2 separate regions of the Homo sapiens genome follow, and region 1 is linked to region 2. Evidence: promoter capture Hi-C in human tissues and cell types (Jung and others, 2019). All regions are on one chromosome and are shown on one strand. Each heading gives the region's core, a stretch centred on a gene start or on the middle of the fragment in contact. The rest is flanking DNA. Distances are from core to core; before and after follow the strand shown. Region 1 overlaps RAI14 (retinoic acid induced 14). Region 2 holds the start of TTC23L (tetratricopeptide repeat domain 23 like).

Region 1 (4,069 bases), core at 1,126-3,625, 45 kb after region 2:
CTCAGCCTCCTGAGTAGCTGGGATTACAGGTGCATGCCACCATGCCTGGCTAAATTTTTTTGTATTTTTAGTAGAGATGGGTTTTAACCATATTGGCCAGTCTGGCCTTGAACTCCTGGCCTCAAGTGATCCACACACCTCACCCTCGCAGAGTGCTGTAATTACAGGATGAGTTACCACACCTGGCCTTAAATTTTCCATAATGAATATGTATTACTTTTTGATACCTAATCTGGTGCTGGCCTGCTGACTTAAGAGACTAAAAACCACATACCGGTAGTATCTTGGGCTGTCACATCCACACCATGTGTAATCATGACCCTGAGGCATTCCACGTGTCCTTTTGCAGCAGCAAGATGGAAACTGGAAAGAGAAGTAAACACAATCTCCTTGAGATTTCTACTCTTTAATGTTCATCTCCAACAGAGTTTCCCCCCCGCCCCCCGCCATTTCATGTACACTTTCTCTTCCTTGAGCTCTACAAGCACCCACTGACTAGGCATTATTATCAATCTCACTTTAAAGAGGAGGAAACAGAAGCTCAGGATGGTCTGATAATTTCCTCGTTGACAGCTTTAGTTAAGGGATGGAGCAGGAGTTTGATCTTCCAACCCCAAAGACCAGGCTTGAAAAAAGTAAGATTCAGCCATATATTTGTCTCTTGATGAAACAAATCAGAAAGTCCCAACTAGGTTGAATTTCTAAGTAATATGTCTTTATCAATGTTTTCCTATTGTCTAGTGTTTTCACCACAGCTGTTTCACCATTTTAAAGTGATATGCTCTAAAAAGAAAATCTTGTCTAAGTCAAACAGTGGCCAAGGTTCTTGGACAACTCAATGCCCACTGTTGTGTTGTATCTGAGTAACAATAGTTGCATGCAATATTTGGTAAGTGCCTAATGTGGGTCAAGCATCTGACTACACACTTTTATGCATTGTTTTTCATTCCTATGACAGCTCTTTAAGGTGAGTTCTATTACTTTCTCCATTAGATGGCAAGTGTCTATACTCTGGTGCAAACAGCATTAGAGAAAGCCCACCATTAAGACTCCAGAACTCAGTGAAACTTGGGAGCACAAACCATGATCAGCATGTTTAGACTGGTCACTAGAAGAAGGGATAACATCCAAATGCCAATTCAATCATCCCTCCAGATCCCGGGATGAAGGGCACTTTTGCATGCAGAAAGAAGCAAAGCACAATTCCACTGGGTGGTCAGGCCCAGAGGCCAAGATGGCTGCAAAATTTGGGCAGGTTTCCCTTCTCTCAGTTGCCATCCTATAGAGAGGTTAATGAGCCTTCTAGTTCTTCTCCTGAGTCAGTCCTGTTTTAGGGATGTGCCCTCAGGATACCTCTCATGAAGTCCCTTGGTGTCTGTACCTCTGAATTAATGCCCAGATAATATTTTCTCGCTGGGAAGGATCTATCATTGAAATCCAGGGTAACATTCAACTGGAAAGTCCGATAGCTGATATTTAAACCCAAGTTGGTCTGATTCCAGACCTCTTAATAACCTGGCTGAGTGAGGGGGACATATCAACAAATAGGAATACTTCAGTACTAGTTGCAAATCAGCCATAACATAATTATCTGTGTGTTTTGGGAAGTCATTTTAACCTCTCTGTGCCTAAATTTCCTCCATTGTAAAGGCTGGGGATCAAGTCAAATAATTTCTAATGGTTCCCTTGGCTCTAACGTTTAATTATTTTAGCTTACCTGGCTCTACTCACGCAACTATTTCTGTATTTGTGCAGCAATCTATGTGTAATATCTATTTACAGTCAAAATTTATTTTATAAGTGATTTCACATTACAATAAAACTTTGCATACAATGATTTGGGAGTGTAGTGACTTTTTTTTGTTTTTGAATATTTTTTGAGATGGAGTCTTATTCTGTTGCCTAGGCTGGAGTGCAGTGGCATGATCTTGGCTCACTGCAACCTCCGCCTCTCAGGTTCAAGTGATTCTCCTGCCTCAGCCTACTGAATAGCTGGGATTACAGGCATGTGCCACCACACCCAGTTGATTTTTGTATTTTTAGTAGAGACGGGGTTTCACCATGTTACCCAGGCTGGTCTCAAACTCCTGACCTCATGTGATCCACACACCTCAGTCTCCCAAAGTGCTGCGATTACAGGCATGAGCCACCATGCCTGGCCATAGTGACTTGTTTAAATGGAATTCCTCATTCAATATAGCTTAACCAAACTATACTGGCAGTGCAATAATTCCTCCACTTCTCAACATTGTTGGAATAGCTTCATTTTACAATAAGTCCACCTTTAAGCAGTAAGTCTTTTATTAATCTTGGTGGAAGGTTTCTAAAAGTTTCCCAGCCTTAGTAATAGTGCATGTAACATAATTAATTGCTCTTGGGAATATGGAGTCTCCTCAATTATTGAATTGCATGTTTAGGGATACTAATTGAAATGCCCCTGGATTACTAAGCCCTAAAATTGATTAATATTTAGCTTCTTAATGTCTTTGTGTTTGTTTCTAAGCTGTTCACTATGCCATCTCCTATGACAAGAGGAAAACTAAATCAAAAGTATCTAAATAAGAGAGTAGCCATATCCCATTCTAAAAATAACCATACCAGGAAGTGTCTACTGCCCATGTGCATATACACACACCCAAATCAATCAATCAATCAATTATATTTATCTACATTTAACTTTTGATTGAAATATAACATGTAAAGAAAGCTACACATATAATTGTACAGCTTGCTAAATTTTTGCAACTGAAATATTTTGCCTTCATACTAATCAGGAAACAGAATGTGGTCAGAGACCCCAAAACCCTCCTGCTAGCACCCCAGAAGTTCTCCATATGCCCCTTTTAGTTACTAACCCCCTTCCCCATGTGATATTTTTATTTTTTTCTACTCTGAGGCTTCTTGGATTACCTCTGGATTACATAGTCTTTTATGGGTGGCTGGAACTGCAGACCATCTGACAGTGAAGCATTATTGTAGGCCACTCCTGTACATTGGTAAATGCAGTCTGATGAACGTGTTATGATATTCTACAAATGATTTGGGAAATGCAGAGTTTCAGGATCATCACTTGGAAGGCCCACGATCAATACAAGGCAGAAGTGAGGTGTTAGGAAGCTGCGCTCAATTTCCAGTCCCACAAAAGAATTTTCTTAGACATAGCTTTGTAAAAGAAAATCCCTGATATCAACCTAAATTTATATATTTGATGGCTGAAATACATTTTCAGGGATCCAGTTAGTTAAAGCTTCATTGCATACGCTTTAATAAATCGTGTGATAGCGAGAGATTTTATTTTGTCCTCCCTCTCCCATTGAGAGTTTAGATCAATAAGTGACTTTTTTTCTCTATTCTGGGGACTTTCCAACTATTATGCTGCAGAATGCTTGTGTCCTGCTGAGAAAACAGAATGACAGAATTTTCCAAATTCATTATTTTCTCTTCATGTATTTTACCTAAAGCTGCATCACTTACTGCTTTTACAGATAAAACAGACAAAGTACAAACAAATATAAATAACTAGAAACAGCTCATTCTATAAGGATAGATAGTCTTGGCTTTGATTTTACACTGCATGCATCTAATACCATATTTTTTGCTAGTAAAACCATTGCTAGTTCATGTGATTCAGTTAAACATTATTTCAAGGTGTTTCTGCAAGAAAATTCTAACATCCAGGTGTTTGTTGTGTTCTGATGTCACACAAAAGCTTCTGCTCTGCTTTCTAAAACACACAGGCATAGGAATGATCTTGAAAAGCAGGAAAGGGGCCAGGCACAGTGGCTTACGCCTGTAATCCCAGCACTTTGGGAGGCCGAGGTGGGCGGATCACGAGGTCAGGAGATCGAGACCATCCTGGCTAACACAGTGAAACCCCGTCTGTACTAAAAATACAAAAAAATTAGCCAGGTGTGGTGTCGGGCACCTGTAGTCCCATCTACTCGGGAGGCTGAGAGAGGAGAATGGTGTGAACCAGGGAGGCGGAGCTTGCAGTGAGCCAAGATTGCACCACTGCACTCCAGCCTGGGCGACAGAGAGAGACTCCGTCTCAAAAAAAAAAAAAAAAGAA
Region 2 (4,299 bases), core at 658-3,157:
TTCTTTTTTATTTTATTTTATTTTTTTTTGAGACAGGGTCTCTATTGCCCAGACTGGAGTGCAGTGATGGAATCTCAGCCCACCACAACCTCTGCCTCCGGGTTCAGCTATTCTCCTGCCTCAGCCTCCCGAGTAGCTGGGATTACAGTCGCGTGCCACTACCGCGCAGCTAATTTTTGTATTTTTAGTAGAGACGGGGTTTCACCATGTTGGTCAGGCTGGTCGTGAACGCTTCTCATGCAAAGCTCCTCACCCAGGTTTGCCTTAAGCAGGAGGTCCCAGTGTTTCAGCCCAGTAAGTACCTGTGATGTCAAAATGCTGTGATACTTACATATGGAAGCAGAAATCCCAGTCGATGTCATTGCTAACAGTTGGGATACGGATGGGGCTGGCTTGCATCTTCTTCCTACCAAGAATCAGGTAAGGTCAGCTTTGAGAGAAAAGGCTGGGTGTCTGTTCTATTTTCCCCCTCTGGTTTGCTATTAACATTAAACTAAAACTGCTCAAATATATAACCCATCCTAAATCCACAGACTACGCATACTTAGATATGGAGACCGCTGGAAAACAGACATTTGCCAAATTAAATGTCTAAGTTAAATTTCTTTCCCCTAATTTCAACTCCACCCTACTTCTCCAAAATCCCTGGCCTTTATGTCTCAAAGCAAGCACATTTACAGTTCCTGGGTCATCAAAACTATGGTCACCTACTTAACTCAGATATTGTTTTTGCAGGTCTGACGGCGTGTTGGATTTAAGCAAAGCAACCAACTCTCAGTGGTAAACGAAGCACAGCCAGTGTATTGGTTAATTCTGCTTTCCCCCCCCCCCCCGGGGTCATTTCACTAATTAATAGCAGATTCTAGTACAGGGGTCACGAGGCGGGTACAGAGGCTCACGCCTGTAATCCCAGCACTGTGGGAAGCCGAGGCGGGTGGATCACCCGAGTTCAGGAGTTCGAGACCAGCCTGGCCAACAGGGTGAAACCCCGTCTCTACTAAAAATACAAAATATAGTCGGCTGTGGTGGTGCACGCCTGTAGTTCCAGCTACTCGGGAGGCTGAGGCAGGAGAATCGCTTGAACCCGGGAGGCGGAGATCGCGCCACTGCACTCCAGCCTGGGCGACAGAGCGAGACTCCGTCTCAAAATAAAATAAAACAATAAAATGAAATTCATGTGTCTGTTTTAGTTGTTGCTGTTAGATGATAGGAGAAACCTCGGAAGCACAAAACGAAAAATGTGATTTCTAAATACAGTATTTGTGAAATTCAACTCTCAAGGAAGGCTATGCCAGTCGCTTAAATCAAACCCAAATCGAACGCAGTTACTTATTGAATGTTAACATCCACCAAGTCGCCTCTCCTTTCACCCTCCAGAATCACTAATTCCCACCGAGCCCTGAGTGGCTTTCTGACCCAGGCTCCAGAGCATCCATTATCCGAAAATCAGAAAGGGAGAGTCACTAATTTCTCTTTTTAACCTCCACTTTAAACACTATGCCCACAGCAAAGAGTTCTGATCTCTCAAACTCCCGGACTCTGTTCCTATGACGTTCCGCACGGCCCTGAGCCCCTCAAGGACGAATCGCTCCTCTTTTCCCGCTGTGGTTCTGCGGCAAGTCTGTAAGCCCTGACGCCGCAGGTCGAGCTCTGAGAGCCTCTCTGCCGCGGAGGCTCTAAGAGAACGCGCGAGTGCGCAAAGGGCACCTGGCTCAAGGCGGAGAAACCACGCCCCGGAACCAGCCTCCCAGCTCCCTGAGCCCGACGGCGCGGCTTCCTCCCGCTGCGTCGGCCTCCTGACCCTGGCGCACCTCGGTCCGGGCGCCAAAGCGGTGCCTCGCGAAAGCTGCACAGCCTGCGACGTCCCCAGTTACCTTCCGCAGCCCAGGTCCGGCCAAGGAGACAATACCGTTGCCATGGGAACGGAACGCTACGGGTTCTGCTGGGAGCGCCTGTAGCCATGGCGACGCGGGGCACTTCCGGTTCGGAGAGTCCCTGTTGTCTGGCGCCTACAGCAGCCCTTGCCTTACCCTCCGCTTTCCCTTCCCCGCAGGTTAGACGCGCCCGGCCTCCGGCTCGCCCCAAAACTGGCCTCTGCATATTGTATCTCACGAGACCTTACCCCTCGGAGGTGAAGGCGTAGGAAGAGAAGATACATTCCGTCCAAGGATGGAAGGGAGCGCCGGGCCCCACGGCCCTACTTATTTAAAGCTGCGACGTGTGCGGGCTGTATTCGGCGACGATCCTGGCCACGGTGCACCCCCACAGCTCCTCGGGAGTTTTGTTTTTATGGACCCCAGAGGAAAGGCTTAGATATGGCTGTTGACTGTGCTGGCACCGTCTGTGTTACCCAGTAAGATTGGAGCTAGGCATGGTTAGGAAAGCTGATTGCAGGAAGAGAGTAGGGTAAGAAATCGACTACTAGATCTGCTAATGGTTAGCTGTTCATTATTTATTTAGCACTTAGCCCTAAATAATGCAGCCATATCTTACCCTTTCGTTGGCATGGAATACAGTGTGTGTAATACACACAAGGTGCAGAGGCAATTGTGGCCATACCCAAAGAAACAGCGCCAGCTCTTGCAACGCTATGTTGAAGGATGTTATTATGAACCCTATCATAGACTAGGCCTATGGCAAGTCAAGTTGGAGTGAATGTGTCCCAGTTGTTTTCAGAAAAGAGCAGACTAGGTAGAGAGACAAGGAGAACATTGAGAATGTGAAAGATGGTGTTTACGTTTGGTGTTTGTTATTTCCAGCTCTAGGCTGGAAGTTTAATTGCCATTGATCCAAGACTGCCAAGAAAGCCTTTTTGGAGTTAGGTTGGAGGAGTTATTTAAATGAGTTTGCTTGAATATCTCTTAAGTAAAACCTGTATGGTCTGTTAACTCAAGATTTAAATCTGTACTTTCGAGCTCCATAGTCACAATTTTGGAAAGATTCCCCCACTTTATTCTTTTTCCTAAGAAAACTCTCAGCATGGAACAATGATGACAGCAATGAACCTGATTTCAGAATGTCAAGGTTCTGGTTTTGACTCTGTAGCCTGGGCCGAGTCACGGCCAGTGGGTCCCAATTTTCTTGCCTATACGGTGAAAGTTTTTGTACCACTTGCTTTCTGAAGCGCCTTCTGGTTCCAGGTTTCTGTAAGGGGTAAACGATTTTTGTGACTCTATGAACAGTATTTAACATGTATGGGAGTAAAAAGGAAGAACCTGTTTCCTGTTCTCCAACATTTATTTCTTTTACCCCTTGTTAAGTTGGTCATCAAATTGAAAGGTTTTAATGTTCTTTCATTCTAGGAAATGGCTGTGAGATTGTTTCTAAGTATATTAAAGGTAATGTCTCTTTTCTAAACCTTTGCTTTTGCTGATAATTGTGGAGAGAAGAACCAGAACAGGCACTGAATTCCCATTCCTAAAGCCAACGCTCTAATTCGGCCTCCATTTCATTAGCTCTGACCGGAAGCATGTTGCCTGCATCTGTAAAAATTATAAATCAAAATAAAATAACTTTGGCGACTATTTTTTTTCTTTTTTTGAGACAGAGTCTCACTCTGTGGCCCAGGTTGGAGTGCAGTGGTGTGATCTTGGCTCAGTGCAACCTCCGCCTCCCGGGTTCAAGCAATTCTGCTGCCTCAGCCTCCCGAGTAGCTGGGATTACAGATGTGTGCCACTACTGTCTGTCTAGTTTTTGTATTTTTAGTAGAGACAGGGTTTCACTGTGTTGGCCAGGCTAGTCTCGAACTCCTGACCTCAGGTGATCTGCCTGCCTCAGCCTCCCAAAGTGCCGGGATTACAGGTGTGAGCCACCGTCCAGCCAGAACTTTGAGGACTCTTGAAGTTTTTTGGTATTTCTTTCCTTGTCATGTTAACCCTGTCCCCCAAATGTAAGCTTTAGTTGTAGTATATACACTTTTAGGTTTGTTCACTAACTCTAGAATGGCATCCCACTAATCTAAGTGGATAGTGCGTTTCCACCGTGTGTATTCACATTCCCTCCCCTGATCCGGAGGTAGAGGTGGCAAGCATTGCTATTGCAGAAATTGCATAGAGGAAGCAGTATGGGGGGTTTTTCTAGGCTCTAACAACCCCAAATCAAATGTGATTATCTCCAAGCTATTCTTATCCCAGGAACTGTGAAATTTAAGGCAAGGAAATCCAAATAAACTTTCGCTTGGAACACATTTTTATGGCCTCTCAAGAGAGGGTTAGATGCCTTGCTTCTGAGCCCTCGCAGTACCCTGTCCACAATCTCATCATGACTCTCACATTGTACTGGCACTTCTGTTTATTTGCA

Evidence for each region. The method cuts DNA at HindIII sites, captures the fragments that hold promoters and counts their contacts. A contact is called where the count stands out against the background at its distance.
Region 1: a fragment that was not itself captured here is called in contact with the fragment with the promoter of TTC23L in region 2 in 1 of the 25 tissues and cell types used here (small bowel).

What each region holds. Positions count from the first base shown.
Region 1 is chr5:34,792,233-34,796,301 of GRCh38, reverse strand. It overlaps RAI14 (retinoic acid induced 14), which reads right to left. Exons shown (of 18, transcript NM_015577.3): 4 at 275-363. Among named protein-coding and RNA genes, the nearest start is that of TTC23L, 45 kb to the left of the region's middle. The HindIII fragment of the contact is 7,860 bases long and covers 1-4,069 here.
Region 2 is chr5:34,836,772-34,841,070 of GRCh38, reverse strand. It overlaps TTC23L (tetratricopeptide repeat domain 23 like), which reads right to left and starts at 1,907. Exons shown (of 11, transcript NM_144725.4): 1 at 1,812-1,907; 2 at 332-406. The coding sequence starts at 399. It overlaps TTC23L-AS1 (TTC23L antisense RNA 1), which reads left to right and starts at 1,739. Exons shown (of 2, transcript NR_183259.1): 1 at 1,739-1,888; 2 at 2,054-3,524. RefSeq lists an enhancer at 1,508-1,617. The HindIII fragment of the contact is 9,286 bases long and covers 1-4,299 here.